2 separate regions of the Homo sapiens genome follow, and region 1 is linked to region 2. The links are contacts of gene promoters, found by promoter capture Hi-C in blood cells and fetal thymus (Javierre and others, 2016). All regions are on one chromosome and are shown on one strand. Each heading gives the region's core, a stretch centred on a gene start or on the middle of the fragment in contact. The rest is flanking DNA. Distances are from core to core; before and after follow the strand shown. Region 1 has its middle 34 kb from the start of BICD1. Region 2 holds the start of H3-5 (H3.5 histone).

What was found. Contacts are between HindIII fragments. The CHiCAGO score rates a contact against its expected background, and 5 or more counts as called.
Region 1: a contact is called between a fragment that was not itself captured here and the fragment with the promoter of H3-5 in region 2, in 1 of 17 cell types (non-activated CD4 T cells). The highest score is 6.9, in non-activated CD4 T cells.

What each region holds. Positions count from the first base shown.
Region 1 is chr12:32,070,992-32,074,148 of GRCh38, reverse strand. No RefSeq gene overlaps it. Among named protein-coding and RNA genes, the nearest start is that of BICD1, 34 kb to the left of the region's middle. The HindIII fragment of the contact is 1,252 bases long and covers 795-2,046 here.
Region 2 is chr12:31,791,004-31,794,226 of GRCh38, reverse strand. H3-5 (H3.5 histone) reads left to right here and starts at 1,929. Exons shown (of 1, transcript NM_001013699.3): 1 at 1,929-3,042. The coding sequence starts at 2,061. The coding sequence ends at 2,468. The HindIII fragment of the contact is 13,966 bases long and covers 1-3,223 here.

The DNA of each region.
Region 1 (3,157 bases), core at 171-2,670, 280 kb before region 2:
TTGGCCTCCCAAAGTGCTGGGATTACAGATGTCATCTACCACACCCAGCCTAAATTCTGCATATCTATATTGGAAAAAAAAAAAACCTCAATCCCTACCTCACACCACACACAAAAATTAACTCCATGTGGATCATAGACCTAAAGATAATTGCTAAAACCATGCAACACAGGGAAAAAAATATTTACAAACTTGCCAAAGCAGAAACCATAAAAGAAATAATTGGTAAGTTGCATTTTTATCAAAATGCAAAACTTCTGCTCTTTGAAAGACAAAATTAAGAAAATTAAAAGGCAAGCCACAGGCTGGGAGAAATCATCATAATACATATATCTGACAGAGGACTGGTAGTCAGAATACATACAAAATTCTCACAACTGGCCGGGCACAGTGGCTTACGCCTGTAATCCCAGCACTTTGGGAGGCTGAGGCAGGAGGATCACTTGAGTTCAGGAGTTCAAGACCAGCCTGGCCAACATGATGAAACCCCATCTCTACCAAAAATACAAAAAAATTAGCCAGCCAAGGTGGCACGTGCCTGTCGTCCCAGCTACTCTGGAGGCTGAGGTGGGAGGATGGCTTGAGCCCAGGAGGCAAAGGATGCAGAGAGCCAAGATTGCACCACTGCACTCCAGCCTGGGTGACAGAGCAAGACTCCATCTCAAAAAAAAAAAAAAAAAAAAAAAAAAAAAAAAAAAAAAAAAAAACTCTTACAACTTAGTAATAAAAAGACAACCTGACTGGCTGCCCAAACCAAACTTGGTTTCCCAGAATTGGCTGACAGAGCAAAAGCTTGTTTAATTTGAATCTGAAAAGGACACACAGTAACCCCTCACTCTTTGAGGAGGCTAGTGAGAGGAGTCAGATCTGGTGTTACGGGGTGAATTGTATTGTTTCCAACCCTCTCCATCCTTGCCCAAAATTCATGTGCTGAAGCCCTGACCTGCAGTACCTCGGAATGTAACTGTGTTTGGAGATAGGGCCTTTAAAGAGGTAATTAAGTTAAAATGAGGGGAAAACCCTTATCTTATACAAGTGATGTCCTTATAAGAAAAGGAAATTTGGACAGGTACAGAGCAAAAGACCATGTGAAGACACCGAGAAAACGGCTGTTTCCAAGCCAAGGAGAGAGGCCTCAGAAAAAACCAACCTTGATCTCAGACTTCTGGCCTCCAGCACTAATCTCCCAAGAAACAAACTCTTAGAACTGGCCTAGGAATATCTACGAAAACAATGGTAAAAATTAAAAAAAAAAAATTGTCACATGAGTTACCTGTCTCCTGCTGCAATCTGGTGTCCAAGGTGAAATACCATTGTATGGTGTACTAAGCAAGCCACAGGGTTTCCAGCCCATGCACAGAGTCATTCCGTCTCAGCCAGGTGAACTCCACATCATTTCCATCATAGCCCTCTGATAAAGGAAATGGAGCCCTGGTCAGTGCAAGGACATTGCAGATTGAACTAGTCTAGAAAATGCTATAATAGCCCGGCACGGTGGCTCATGCCTGTAATCCCAGCACTTTGGGAGGCTGAGGCGGGTAGATCACGAGGTCAGGAGATTGAGACCATCCTGACTAACATGGTGAAACTCCGTCTCTACTAAAAATACAAAAAATTAGCTGGGTGTGGTGGCGGGCGCCTGTAGTCCTAGCTACTCAGGAGGCTGAGGTAGGAGAATGGCGTGAACCCGGGAGGCAGAACATGCAGTGAGCAGAGATCGCACCACTGCACTCCAGCCTGGGCAACAGAGTGAGACTCCGTCTCAAAAAAAAAAAGAAAGAAAATGCTATAATATGTAAATAGCATGAGTTATGTCTTCGTGGTGACAAGTCCAAGGACAATCCCTGCAAAACTTGGCATGATTTCTCAAGTGCAATTGCAATGTCTGTTCAAAATGAAGTGACCTGCTGGGACTGTTTGCCGTCAATTGAGAACTGGTCCTATGCTAGATATTGTGTAGATCAGGTAAATGATAAGTCTTTAGAAGTGGCCTCCCTCATTATTTAAATGTTATTATTGAACAAATATCCATGAACACACAAAGCTTATGTTAGATACTGCCTTTCAAGACTGTCTAATAGCTCTCGTGGTATTTTCAGGGAACAGAATGTAGAACTGAGCTGTTCATATTTTCACATTGGCATAAACGCAAAACTAAAACAAAAAACCTGCACTCAGCTGCTTTCTTAAAGTCTGTAACATGTGTGTTAAATCTCAAAACAGTTTAATTAATACAGTTGATAATAGTAACAACAGTTACCCTTTGAACACTTATGTTAAGTACTTTATACATTATGTCACTAATGTTCTTGCAAACTTGCAAGGAAGCCATTTCTTCATTTCTAAGATGGACATGTCTTTACATTTTCTGAAGTTGAGATGGACTTTACAGTTGATTGTATCTATCTATCTATCTATCTATATAGATTTATATATATATATAGTAGAGCTTATATTTTTCCTAAAATGCTACTATCCAATAAATTCTGTTCCATAGGAAAAAAATGACAACCCATTTTCTTAAAATGAGTGAAAGATTTGAACAGACACTTTTTATTTTTTTTTTGAGACAGAGTCTTGCTGTGTCCCCTAGGCTGGAGTGCAGTGGTGTATCTCGGCTCATGGCAACCTCCGCCTCCCAGTGAATAGATGCTTTTACCAAAGAAGATATATGAATGATCAATCAGCACATGGAAAGATGCTCAAAATCATTAGTCATCAGAGAAACGCAAATTAAAACCACAATGAAATATCACTATCCACAATTAGAATAGCTGAAATTCATACCATTTTTCATTAAAAGCACCACACCTAAACCAGGTCCAGGGCGGAAAAAGTACAAAATAAAATTGGAAAAAAAAAAAGAAAAGGAAGAAAAATAAGCTTGGAACAGCTTGTTGCCCCAGAAAGTAAAAACATTATCAAAGGCTAATGATGGGACACATCAAATAACAAAAAATTCCATAAGCCAGCTTGAAGAGGGTCCTTTTGGTCAAAGATAAGATGATTTGAACATCAAGAAGAATTATTATTTCAATTGATTAAAATAAATAAAAATATTACTCTGGGGGCTGAGGTGAGAAGATTGCTTAAGCCCAGGAGATTGAGGCTACAGTGAGTTGTGTTCGCACCACTGCACTCCAGCCTGGGTGACAGA
Region 2 (3,223 bases), core at 680-3,179:
TTTGTATTTTTAGTAGAGACGGCGTTTCACCGTGTTAGCCAGGATGGTCTCCATCTCCTGACCTCGTGATCCGCCCGCCTCGGCCTCCCAAAGTGCTGGGATTACAGGCGTGAGCCACCGCCCGGCTGGGTACGGATTTTCTTTACGCTGTATATAAAAGTCTGAGAAACTATCAATTGCTTATAATAAAGAATGAAAACTCCAAAGGCATCTGGGGTGAGGTTGAGGGTCTGCACAGAGATTATGGGGGAAGGGGACGTCCAAAGCTGTCATTGGATTCAGGCACTCAACAGATTGGAACACAGTGTAGAGATTTATGGTAGTGTGAAGGTGCTTTATTTGTTATGAATTACTCAGAGATTTTACTATATTTTAACCTGGGGCGGGGAACCCTTCCTTTTTTTGCCCTTTTGAAAATAAGGTAGATTTCTTCAGATGTGGAAAGTATCAATGGTCAATCCAATAGCTTTTCGTTATTTTATTTTTTTATTTTTGGAGGCAAAGTCTCACTCTGTTACCCTGGCTGGAGTGCAGTAGTGCAATCTGGGCTCATTGCAACATTTGCCTCCTAGGTTCAAGCAAGTCTCCTGCCTCAGCCTCCCGAGTAGCTGGGACTACAGGCGTATGCCACCACGCTTGGCTAATTTTTGTATTTTTAGTAGAGACAGGTTTTGCCATGTTGGCCAGGCTCGTCTCAAACTCCTGACCTCGTGATCCACCTGCCTCGGCCTCCCAGTGCTACCATTACAGGCGGAGCCACCACACCTGGCTCACTTTGTGGCATATTTCTAGAAGTTAAAAAACTCACCTGACAAAAGAGATACTTTGTGGCCAGGCACGGTGGCTCACTCCTGTAATCCCAGCACTTTGGGAGGCTGAAGTGGGTGGATCACTTCACGTCAGGAGTTCGAGACCAGCCTGGCGAAAATGGTAAAACCCCCGTCTCTACTAAAAATACAAAAATTAGCCAGGTGTGGTGGCAGGCACCTGTAATCCCAGCTACTTGGGAGGCTGAGACAGGAGAATTGCTTGAACCTGGGAGGTGGAGGTTTCAGCGAGACGAGATCGTGCCATTGCACTCCAGCCTGGGTGAGGACAGTGAAACTCCATCTCCCAAAAAACAAAAAAAAAAAAAAAAAAGAGAGAGAGAGAGAGAAACTTTATGATTTACTCCATGGAACAAATATCATATAGAACTGTAACATTTAAAAGTCAGATTTCTGTTTCTAAACTTTAGGTTTATACCTCTTGGCAGATGACTAGATGATTCTTTCCCCATTCCAAGAGTAACAGATATTCAGCCAACTTGTGTGTGTGTTTATCACATGTGATTCCACATTTCAGTTTGTTTCTCTATATTTTTTGTATTTTAAATTGGACAAGTATTACTTTTATAATAAGAAAAAAGATAATTACTAAAAATAAATGAGAAATACATATACATGTAGAATTTGCATAGTGTCAAGTAAATGATAAGGGTAGAAAGAGTGCAGAGAAAAAAAGGATGAAAACGAAGGTGGCTGAAGAATGCTTTGTGACGGAGGTGGGATTGAAATGAGCTTTGAAAGGCCGGGTGCAGTGGCTCACACCTGTAATCCCAGTAATTTGGGAGGCTGCGGCGGGCGGATCACCTGAGGTCAGGAGTTTGAGACCAGCCTGGCCAACATGGTGAAACTCCGTCTCTACTAAAAATACAAAAATTAACCAGGTGTGGTGGCAGGCGCCTGTAATCCCAGCTACTCTGGAGGCTGAGGCAGGAGAATCGCTCGAACCTGGGAGGTGGAGGTTGTAGTGAACCGAAATCACGCCACTGCACTCCAGCCTGGGCAACAAAGCGAGACTCCGTCTCAAAAAACAAAACAACAACAAAAAACGAAACACCGAAATGGGCTTTGAAGAATGGAAGGGATGCAGATAAAAGAGAGGAGGGCGCAGAGCGGTTTGGTCGTTCGTTGGACCAGTGTCGGTTCTTCGCTCGCGACTGCGGCTCTTCCTCGGGCAGCGGAAGCAGCGCGGAGGTCGGAGAAGTGGCCTAAAACTTCGGCGTTGGGTGAAAGAAAATGGCCCGAACCAAGCAGACTGCTCGTAAATCCACCGGTGGGAAAGCCCCCCGCAAACAGCTGGCCACGAAAGCTGCCAGGAAAAGCACCCCCTCTACCTGCGGGGTGAAGCCTCATCGCTACAGGCCTGGGACCGTGGCGCTTCGAGAGATTCGTCGTTATCAGAAGTCGACCGAGCTGCTCATCCGGAAGCTGCCCTTCCAGAGGTTGGTGAGGGAGATCGCGCAGGATTTCAACACTGACCTGAGGTTTCAGAGCGCAGCCGTCGGTGCGCTGCAGGAGGCTAGCGAAGCGTACCTGGTGGGTCTGTTGGAAGATACTAACCTGTGTGCCATCCACGCTAAGAGAGTCACCATCATGCCCAAAGACATCCAGTTGGCTCGCCGGATACGGGGAGAGAGAGCTTAAGTGAAGGCAGTTTTTATGGCATTTTGTAGTAAATTCTGTAAAATACTTTGGTTTAATTGGTGACTTTTTTTGTAAGAAATTGTTTATATGTTGCATTTGTACTTAAGTCATTCCATCTTTCACTCAGGATGAATGCGAAAAGTGACTGTTTACAGACCTCAGTGATGTCAGCACTGTTGCTCAGGAGTGACAAGTTGTTAATATGCAAAACGGATGCGTGATATTTCTTGCTTCTCATGATGCATGTTTCTGTATGTTAATGACTTGTTGGGTAGCTATTAAGGTACTAGAATTGATAAATGTGTACAACAGGGTCCTTTTGCAATAAAACTGGTTATGACTTGATCCAAGTGTTTAACAATTGGGGCTGTTAAGTCTGACCATACATCACTGTGATAGAATGTAGGCTTTTTCAAGGGTGAAGATACAAACCTTAACCACAGTGTAACTTATAGTTTCCTTTAAAAAAAAAAAATTAAACCTGGCAGCTATAGAATACAATATGTGCATTTATAATAGCTATTTTATATATTGTAGTGTCAACATTTTCAAATTAAATGTTTTACATTCACAAGTGGTGGGGAGTCTTGTCATTAAGGTGTGTGTAATTTAGAGTCCAGTTGGTTTTCTTCTGACTGCACTTGTTCTCATAGTAGTAAAATGCTATGTGCATTTATACCTTGCATAAATCCTCATTCTACCACATGTTAACTAACCCTCTAGCTGATAATGGAAACACTAACTGGGGGATTTTA